Linked DNA regions of Homo sapiens: regions 2 and 3 are each linked to region 1. Evidence: promoter capture Hi-C in 16 types of primary human blood cells and fetal thymus (Javierre and others, 2016). All regions are on one chromosome and are shown on one strand. The core of a region is centred on a gene start or on the middle of the fragment in contact, and the rest is flanking DNA. Distances in the headings are between cores, read along the strand shown.

What was found. Contacts are between HindIII fragments. The CHiCAGO score rates a contact against its expected background, and 5 or more counts as called.
Region 2: a contact is called between a fragment that was not itself captured here and the fragment with the promoter of UBP1 in region 1, in 1 of 17 cell types (activated CD4 T cells). The highest score is 5.5, in activated CD4 T cells.
Region 3: a contact is called between the fragment with the promoter of SLC4A7 here and the fragment with the promoter of UBP1 in region 1, in 1 of 17 cell types (naive CD8 T cells). The highest score is 6.2, in naive CD8 T cells.

What each region holds. Positions count from the first base shown.
Region 1 is chr3:33,438,762-33,441,840 of GRCh38, reverse strand. It overlaps UBP1 (upstream binding protein 1), which reads left to right and starts at 1,436. Exons shown (of 16, transcript NM_014517.5): 1 at 1,436-2,105. The coding sequence starts at 1,993. RefSeq lists enhancers at 458-747, 958-1,147, 1,479-1,978 and silencers at 1,298-1,457, 1,518-1,627, 1,678-1,997, 2,228-2,277, 2,197-2,431. The HindIII fragment of the contact is 4,671 bases long and covers 1-3,079 here.
Region 2 is chr3:23,918,802-23,921,880 of GRCh38, reverse strand. RPL15 (ribosomal protein L15) reads right to left here. Exons shown (of 4, transcript NM_002948.5): 4 at 892-2,685. The coding sequence ends at 2,380. It also overlaps a transcript of NKIRAS1 not described here. Among named protein-coding and RNA genes, the nearest start is that of RPL15, 3.2 kb to the right of the region's middle. The HindIII fragment of the contact is 2,659 bases long and covers 434-3,079 here.
Region 3 is chr3:27,482,707-27,485,785 of GRCh38, reverse strand. SLC4A7 (solute carrier family 4 member 7) reads left to right here and starts at 1,402. Exons shown (of 26, transcript NM_001321103.2): 1 at 1,402-1,719. The coding sequence starts at 1,660. RefSeq lists enhancers at 744-873, 1,352-2,128, 2,144-2,203, 2,234-2,443, 2,604-2,663 and silencers at 1,004-1,483, 1,514-1,873, 1,904-1,973. The HindIII fragment of the contact is 9,889 bases long and covers 1,083-3,079 here.

The DNA.
Region 1 (3,079 bases), core at 187-2,686:
AAAGTATGGCTTTATCAAATGAAATGTTTGCAAAAATGTTGTGTAAAGAGAAAAACATTCTCCAAGTTAATTTGTGGTTTTTTTTTTTGGAGACCGAGTGTTGCTCTGTCTTCTCCCGGGTTCAAGCCTTACTCCCGCCTCAGCCTCCTGAGTAGCTGGGATTACATGGGCGCGCCACCACATCCAGCTAATTTTTGTTATTTTTGGTAGAGACGGGGTTTCACCATGTTGGCCGGGATGGTCTCCTGACCTCAACTAATTCACCCGCCTCGGCCTCCCGAAGTGCTGGGATTACAGGCGTGAGCCTGTAAGTTAGTATCTAAATCACACAGGCGTTGAGACTATTTTTTTCTGGCTCAGTGCCACTGCTTTATTAGGCTGACATTTTAATCTATGTATTTTTGCACTTAAACTGGCAAGTTGGGGCGGGGCGCTCAGCATTTGGGTCTTATTCTTAGGCAGTAAGTTCGATGCAGGGCGAAGCCCGGGCCTTGACGTTCTCTTCAGCAAGGATTCCGCCCGTCAAGCGCCAGCAGCCGCTCCTAAGGAACTCTGATCCGCACACTGGCTCTGTAAGTCAGCCTCTGGCTCCTGCTTTCTATTTCATCTCTTCCGGTAAAAAGATTTCTGTCTTTTGGCCGCAGTGGCGCGTGCCCACGCTAGGTCGCTGAGGAAGACCCTTCGGGCCTTCTGAGCAGCGTAGCTGTTACTGTGGCACGTCCTAATGGTTCGGTCCAACTTCAGGAGACCGCCTGCCCTTAGGATGACCAACAGCTAGTTCAACTCAGGATAGCCAAGCTGCTCTCGGCAATGCAACCAATAGGGGAAGTCTTTCCAGAGCTCTTTCTCAGGAGCGTTGATTGGCTTATTCTCACGCCAATCAAGGTTTTCTGCACAACTGGCTTTTCTGTCACCAGATGGGGTGCAAACCGCTCACTCCCTCGGTAGAGAGGGCATAAAGCAGAGACGACCGGGAAATACCACAGAGGAGCAAATCACCTCCGGAAGTGGCGTTTTGGGTCGCTTTCTACCATGCAGTCCAATGAACTCTTTCTTTTGGCAACAAATTCCGTCTTCGAGCCCGCCCAAGGTGAAGAACATTTTGATTGGTTGTTTAGTCGGGGGACACAGAGACTCACGGGAGCTTCGTCCAAGCCCTTGCAGGTATTGCTCAGTTGGCCTGTCAATCATCTCGCTCGCTAGAAGGGGCGGAAACTGGCAGCCCTTTTGGCACCGCCTCTTCCTGGGCTGCTGTGCGGGGACGCAGCGAGGCCACCCCGGCTGGGAACAGCCGCGTGGGCGGGGCCGCATTGCACTCTCTGGACAGTTCCTGGGCCGCGAGGCGCGGGGAGTGGCCCTAAGCGCGGGGCTGTACGGGGAGGGCCGAGGCGTGGGGCGAACGCCGGGGCGGGGTCGGGGCGGGGCCGGGGGAGGCGGAAGCGGCGCGTGAACCTAAGTCGGAGTCGCGTTGAAGCCAGCGTCCGGCCGGCAGAGCGGCGTCGGCGGGGTTGGCCGGGGCGGTGTGGCGCTAGAGCCTGGGCGGGCCGGGGGCAAGGAGTCAAGGCTTGGGGGCGGGTGACGGGCGGGCGGAGGGCTTGCCCCCGTGTGGTCCTCGGAGCGGCCCGAGGTCCAGCCTCCCAGCGGTCCCGGAGGAGGATGCGACCGGGGGGCCCCGGGCGGGGCGGTCGGCGGCGGCTGCAGCGCTAGCGGCGCGGGGGCTGGGCGGCGGCGCCGGCATGAGGCGCAGGGCCGGTGTCCGCGGGAGGGTGGCGCTGCCGGCGGCCCGGCCGCTCCCGCTGCAATTGCTCGCTGGGCTCGTCGTGCCCTGCCAGTGGGGCCCCCGCAGCTCTCGTCCCGGCCGCCGCTGGTGACCACTCGCCGCCCCTCCGGAGGCTTCACCCGCGCCCTCCCCCAGGACGCGCCAGCGGAGCTCCGGCTCCTTCGCCCTGGACGCGGAGGCCGCGGTGTGCGGGGCGACGGCGAGGCCGGAAGATGGCCTGGGTGCTCAAGATGGACGAGGTGATCGAGTCCGGGCTGGTGCACGACTTCGACGCCAGCCTCTCGGGCATCGGGCAGGAACTGGGCGCCGGCGCTTACAGCATGAGGTACTGGGCTCCCTGGGCGGGGAGAAGCCTCTGTCTCCTTGGGGAAGGCCTGCGCAGCCCTGAGTCTCTGCCAGATGCGGCTGCTCCCAGAGGTGCGCGGGCCTCCTGGGCTGCGGGGTCGGAGTCCTGCCGCGTGGCGGTCGGGGGCCATGGAACCCCAAAGGCCTCTGCTCGCCCTGGTGACGGGCGGGTGGGGGAGGATGGCCCCGCAAGCGTCGGCCTCGGACCGCTCCTGAGTGCTTCATATTTGCTGTAAAACACGCCCAGCTATTAGGATGGCTTGGGTTGGTGGGGGAAGGGGCTTCTTTTCCTTATAAGTGATTTACAAGTCCCATTGGAGCTAGAATACACTGTACGAAAAGGCAGCACTTATATTGGGAGAATACTGTCTAGCGTTTTGGGATCAGTTCCTACTTTGTTGTCCTACATTATGATCTTTTCTGGCTGCAGATTTTAATCACTTGATGTTAGTAAATTATAATTGAAAGAGCAGCGGTGGGAGTAGCACTGTGACTTCGTTTTGTTCTTTTGATTGTCTCAAAGTGAAGTTTCTCATTTTGGAGACTACCCTCTCAGGCTGTTTCCTCTTGAGGGTTTTAAGATGCAGTGATTGCACCACAAATAATTGTTTAGTCTCTGCTGTCTGTACCAGCAGTCATTCATTTTAATATGGAGAGATTGAAACAGATCTGAGCTTAGTCTCCGCCCTTTATCCTTTTTAACTGTTAGGAATTTGGAAACTCTGTATTTTTTTAGTGGCTTTATTGAAATATAGTTTACCATAGCGTTGACTTGACTAATAAAGTCTAAAAATCAGTGGTTTGGCAGCTTTTCAATAATGTGAATTAAGTGTAGCTTTCTGTTCTTTAGAAAATGTCTGATGTTTTGGAAGTGCTCTACAGTTTCCCAGTAGCATTCATACATCTTACTGCAGCTCTAGAGGAGGACTTCTGGGTTAAAGCTGGCCTGGAATC
Region 2 (3,079 bases), core at 514-3,013, 9.5 Mb after region 1:
AAATTGGGCTGGGGGTGGTGGCTCACGCCTGTAATCCCAGCACTTTGGGAGGCCAAGGCAGGTGGATCACTTGAGGTCAGGAGTTCGAGACCAGCCTGGCCAACATAGTGAAACCCAGTCTCTACTAAAAATACAAAACTTAGCTGGGCATGGCAGTGTGCGCCTGTAGTCCTGGCTATTTGGGAGGCCGAGGCAGAAGAATTGCTCAAACCCGGGAGACAGAGGTTGCAGTGAGCCGTGATTGCCCCACTGCACTCCCACCTGAGTGAGAGTGAGACTCCATCTGGAAAAAAAAAAAAAAAAAAAAAAACTCAATAATCAATGTTGCTGTGTGAATTACATGCCAATATAGAAATAGTAAAGCAAATGGGAACAGCTTGTGGGGCGGTCAGGGTATAGCTAATAAAGTGACCCTTAATATTGGAGTAAAGCTTTCCCATCATAAAGGCATTAGGAAGTGTTTGGTGTATTTGAAGAACAAACAGCAAGGAGCCTGGGGTGTGGACTGCAGTAGGACATGAGGTCACACATAAAGTGGGAAGATCATGAAAGCTATCATGAGGACTTTTGATTTTTTTGCACGGGAGTGCCATGATCAATTTAATAGGATCCCTTGGACTACTGTGTGGAGATAAAACTGTTGGGTAGCAAGGACAGGAACAAGGTTTTCTTGTAGAGACAATGCTGACCTTTGGCCCGAACCCTTTCTCTCCTTCCCAAATTAGTCATGTTTAAGGATTTTTTTTGTTTTTAGGTCTCACTATGCTGCCCAGGCTGGCCTCAACAAATCCTCCAGCTTGTCTCCCAAAGTGCCAGGATTACAGGCCTGAGCCACCACACCCAGCTGAACAGTTTTAGATAAAAACCTAATTCATGCAATGATCAAAGAACTGAGAGAATAAGTACATTTTATGCTATCTCAAATTATATTATTTCTATAATCACATTTTGATGCCTTTTTGCTGGTTAGGGCATTTGGTTTGCTTTAAAGTACATTAGCACTGTAAGATGACAAAAAATAACAGAAGGTCCATTTGTTTTAGTTTAATAGACATTTATTCCTTCAGTTGAACAACCTCTACACAATTAAAATGTATGACTTAAGATCTTTTCTTTTTTTGTGAAGAAATTTAGGTCTCAAGAACTTTTATGAACTTGCTATGAGTACTTCCTGGAAATCAATTAACTGAGTCTTTTGAAACCCCTAGAGAAGATAGGAGAAAATTGGTTCAGAACGAGCATTTAAATTAAGTCAGCAAAGTCAGAATTTAAAATTGGGCAATTCCTTGTCTACATTTTCTTTACACTCAAATTGACCCTGGACAACAGTAGTCTAGTCTCCTGGAAGACATGGTGCAAACAGAAATGCAATGTGGTGGTATACTCATAGTCAAAGTGGGTGCACAAGTGATGGTCCAACTTTGTGGAATGGTAAGGATTTTTAGGGTTGTTTGGCCAGAACAAGAGAAATAACTGCAGAAAACACATATGGTTGGAAACCATGCGCTTGTGACTTTTTCTGTAGCCTATGGGAGTGGACAGAGTGGGTAACCCAAGATGTTTTTAAGACTGACTGGACTAAGAATGACGTACTTATAGCCAACTACTTTCCCCCTAATGTGACTGAAGGGATTCATAATGATCACAATTAGCATTACGGTTAAGTATTTTAGGGTTGACGTCTAAGCTCACACTTGAAAGGTATTTATCTAATGGCCACTGGCTCACCAGCTTCCCACCCTAGCATTCATTGCTAGCTTACCAATCTTAAGGCTAATAATTTTATCGCACATTCAACTTCAAAACACACCAGTGTTTACCATTACCACTAATCACTGAATGCCATGAAGCCATGGCACTGAACCAGGAGCTTTCACCTTTTATGTGAATTTAAAATGGTACTGTGGAGGCTGAGGCAATTTTCTTCAGGCTAACCCAGATTTTCTAAAGCCCAACTTAAAAAGTCTACACCTGCCAAACTAAAAAAAACGCAGCCACTTGAAAATAAACCAGCAGAGCATTGCCATCACTCCGATAAAGCTGCAGGTTTCATCACATGCACCAGACAAATCTACAGGGCTAGTTTCAGTTCTCTCCTTTTAAAGAATTTATTAAGCCTGTTATACCACACAGTATGTTTTATACACTGACATACAACTCCCTAATAAGATAAAGCAAAGACAAAAAAGTTTATCTTATTAGAAACAAGATACACCACCACTTATTGTCTTCAAACATTATTGCACTTTAACTTTCTTAATTTGACAAAGCATTCAAGAAACATCTGCAGACTAGTTTTAACAGACAAATAACACCTGTAAGCAGACATGACTGTCCTAAATTGTTTATTAAGTATGAATTTTACAAACTTTACTTATATTAGCGGTAACGGTGGAGCTGGAGAGTATTGCGCCTTCTCCAAGCTGCCCGGCGAGAGCCACCAATAGTGTGGTGGAACTTGTGGCCCTTTCCAAGGCCACGGCTCTTTCGGCCTGCAGATGTCAGCCCACGCATCTCCCTGTGCTTGTGGACTGGTTTGGTGATCCACTGGGTGTCAGGATTTCTTCTGATAGCTTTATGGAATGGATCAATGAGGATAACCTCAAAAAATTTGTATGTGGAATCTTCACCAACCCAGTAAGAATTCAGGACTCTCAGAGCCCCACAGTGGCGTCCAGCTCGCTCCTAGAATAGGAAAAAAGGCCCAAGGTCAATCTCCCACATTGCCTATAGCAGCAAGTCAGAAAGAATTTTAATTCTCAACTCTAGTTCACCACCAGACAAGAGTCTTTTACTACTCAAGTTATTTACTAAGCATTTCTCCCTAGACTATCACAAGTGTAATGAGATAATGTAGACTTGCTAAAACAACACACATAGACTGAAACACATCATTCCCTCTTAATACTCCATTCCTGACTAGGGCAGGAATATGTTAATATCTGGGTAACAAAATTTAGGGTTTGGGGACCTTATCTTTTTCCATACAACTGAGAGCTCAGCAACGTTTAGCTTTAAAAATATTTAGTATATATTTTAGGCTGTGCAGGCCACATTTGGTCTCTTCTGCATATTCTTG
Region 3 (3,079 bases), core at 153-2,652, 6.0 Mb after region 1:
GAGTGCAGTGGCGTGATCTCAGCTCACTGCAACCTCTGCCTCCTGGGTTCAAGCGATTCTCCTGCCTCAGCCTCCTGAGTAGCTGGGATTACAGGTGCCTGCCACCATGCCTGGCTAATTTTTGTATTTTTAGTAGACACGGGGTTTCGTCATGTTGGTCAGGCTGGTCTCGAACTCCTGATCTCAGGTGATCCGCCCGCCTCGGCCTCCCAAACTGCTGTAATTACAGGCGTAAGCCACCGCGCCCGGCCAAATTTCTCATCTTTATGAAACACTCAAGAGAAACCTGTTAACAATAATGAAAATTATCAGCATGCTATGTGCCAGGCACTTTTATGAATATAAATCCCCTTAATCCTTCAATGAGCCTGCATGGCAGGTATTACAATCATCCCGTTACAGAAGGGATATTTGAGAGACGGCCTACAGGGTGGACTCAATAATGTGGCAGCTGGCCGGGTGTGGTGGCTCATGCCTGTAATCCCAGCACTTTGGGAGGCTGAGGCTGGTGGATCACCTTAGCTCAGGAGTTCGAGACCAGCCTAACCAACATGGTGAAACCCCGTCTCTACTAAAAATACAAAAAGTTGCCGGGCGTGGTGGCGCGCGTCTGTAGTCCCAGCTACTCAGGAGGCTGAGGCAGGAGAATAGCTTGAACCCAGGCAGCGGAGGTTGCAGTGAGCCGAGATCATGCCATTGCACTCCAACCTGGGCTGGTGCAAGACTCTGTCTCAAAAAAAAAAAAAAAAAAAAAAAAAGTGGCAGCTGTCGTGGTGCTCAGTGGGCGAGCAAGCACAGGAGGACACCTGGTCAAGTGTACCCCATCTTTCACGGTCCCTGAGTTGGGGTTCGTGCCTACTGGATTGACAGAAAAGAAACTTCCAGGAGTCGTGAAGACTCGTTAGTTGCTTCGGAGGGTTATCCTGGGCGTCCTTGACAGAGGTGGCGTCCTCCTTCCCTGCAGCCTCTAAAGAATGTAGTTAGGAGCCAAGGGAGGTGGTGACCCCCCACCCCATTGAGAACGTCAGGGGAGCTTCCGACTTGAAAAACTAGTTAGACGCTCAGCTTCGGTCAATTAAGCTTATACAAAGAGGGGCGGTGCGTCCTGAGGAGGTGGCACGGGGGAGGCGAGCGGAAGTCCGCCAGCCGCCGATTGGCTGGGACAAATGTCCGTCCCGCCTCCCTCCCGCCCCATCTCCCGGTGGCCTAGCGGCGCGGCCCGCGGGCGCGCTGAGGAGGCTGGCGGTGCCAGACTGGCAGGGGGCGTGACCCGAGGAGGCGGGGCGGGGGGGCGTGTCTTGCCTGGCCCCGGCGCCGGGCTCGTCACGGTTTGCGGCTCCGCCCCCGAACCCCTCCTCCTACGCGGCTCTCCTCCTTCCCGCTCGGTCCGCCGGTTCGCTCAGTTCTAGCTTCAGGTTCCACGCCGCGGCCTCGCTCTCCTACTAAAGCCAGCCCAGCAGTCGCAGCGCGCACACGCACGCCCCGCGTCTCCCGCGCCCGGCGCCCGGCTCTCCCCACGCGCGCACACCTCGCGCACGGACGCACCCACGTTTGTCCTCGCGCGCCGGGGGCTCGGCGGCGGCGGCAGGGGCAGCGGCAGAAGCAGGCAGACCGCGCGGGGCAGTACCGTAGCGGCCGTCACGGGCTGGCCGGCCGGCCATGGAGGCTGATGGGGCCGGCGAGCAGATGAGACCGCTACTCACCCGGGTAACGAGCAGGGTGAGGGCGCCGCGGCGGTGGGGCTCCTCCGCAGGGGGAGGGCGCGGGGCGAGGCAGACAAAGGCGGGGGGCGCGGCGGGCGTCGCGGCTCGGCCACCTCGTCCCAGGCCCGTCGCCCCTCCACCTCCCGGCGGCCGGCGCGCCTCGCCATCCCCTTTGTGTGGCGGCCTGGGGCGCGGGTGGGAGGGGGCCAGCGGCTGCGCTCGGGAGGCCCGAGTCGGGGCGGCCGGCGGCGCGCCGCGGGCATCCTCTGCGCGGCTCAGGCGGGACCCCGACATCCCCGCAGAGGCCGCCTGTGACCCCGACCATCCATCCCTTCCCTCAGCGCTCGCCTCCCCTGTTTCTTAGCGCGCTCCCCAGGCGGGGTCCCGGTTCCGGTTGCCTTGGCGCAGGAGTTTCAGATTAGCCCTCGAAAACCTATCTTTCTTCTCCTTCTAAGGAGGACGGCGGCTCCACCTGTCTCTAGCCCCAGGCAGTGGTGAAGAGCTGGTTGAATCTTTCCCCCTCTTTCCGAGTGTCCCCTCCCGCTCCGCGGTGCGCTTTGTTCGGTGAGTTCTCCGGCCGCGTGGACTGGCCGCGCTCCTTCCCGGCCAAGGCTCTTTCGCTGTTGCCTGCCGGGTCCGCCTTCTCCACTGGCTGGGACCCGGGGAGTATCCTCCTGCCGCAGGCCAAGTAGAAGGAGGAGGGTGTCCTGAGCTGTCTGGTGCTCCTTCTCTAACTCAGCTAGCAAGATCGCGTTTCCTACTGAGACTGGCTTTGATTTCAGGGTTAGAAGAGAATGGGGATGGACTTAAGGCCGGTGTTCCCATTTGTGATGATGGGTGAACGGCCCATGCTCAAGAAGCGGACTTCCTGCTTTCTTTAGAGCACATGCGTCCCCGCAGTTGTCTCTTTCTCCTTTCCAAGTTCGTGACTCAAAGGAGATGGAAGTATTCTAAATTTTCCTACTTCTAATTTTTACTATGCAACCAGCAAAGGCGGGAAGGTTGCAGGGAAAATTGTCCGGTCTTTCACAACTAAGAGGAAAATTACTTCTCCTATGTTTTTATTCAAGAGTTGTCTTTAAAACTGCCTGCCGGCTTTCCCTTTTAACTTTTAGGATTATAGTTAAGGTTATGGAAAGTAGTCATTCATTAGTTCAGTACGTTCATATAAGTTCTCTAACATAGAAGAAAACTCAGTCACCAGACAGTGAAGTCATTTAGCAGTGGTTATTGGAAGATAATTCACAGTGATGGTAATGGAATACTGGAAACTCATCCTAAATAATCTGTAATTATTATTATTATTATTTTGAGACAGAGTCTCGCTCTGTCGCCCAGGCTGGAATGCAGTGGTGCGATCTCGGCTCACTGCAACC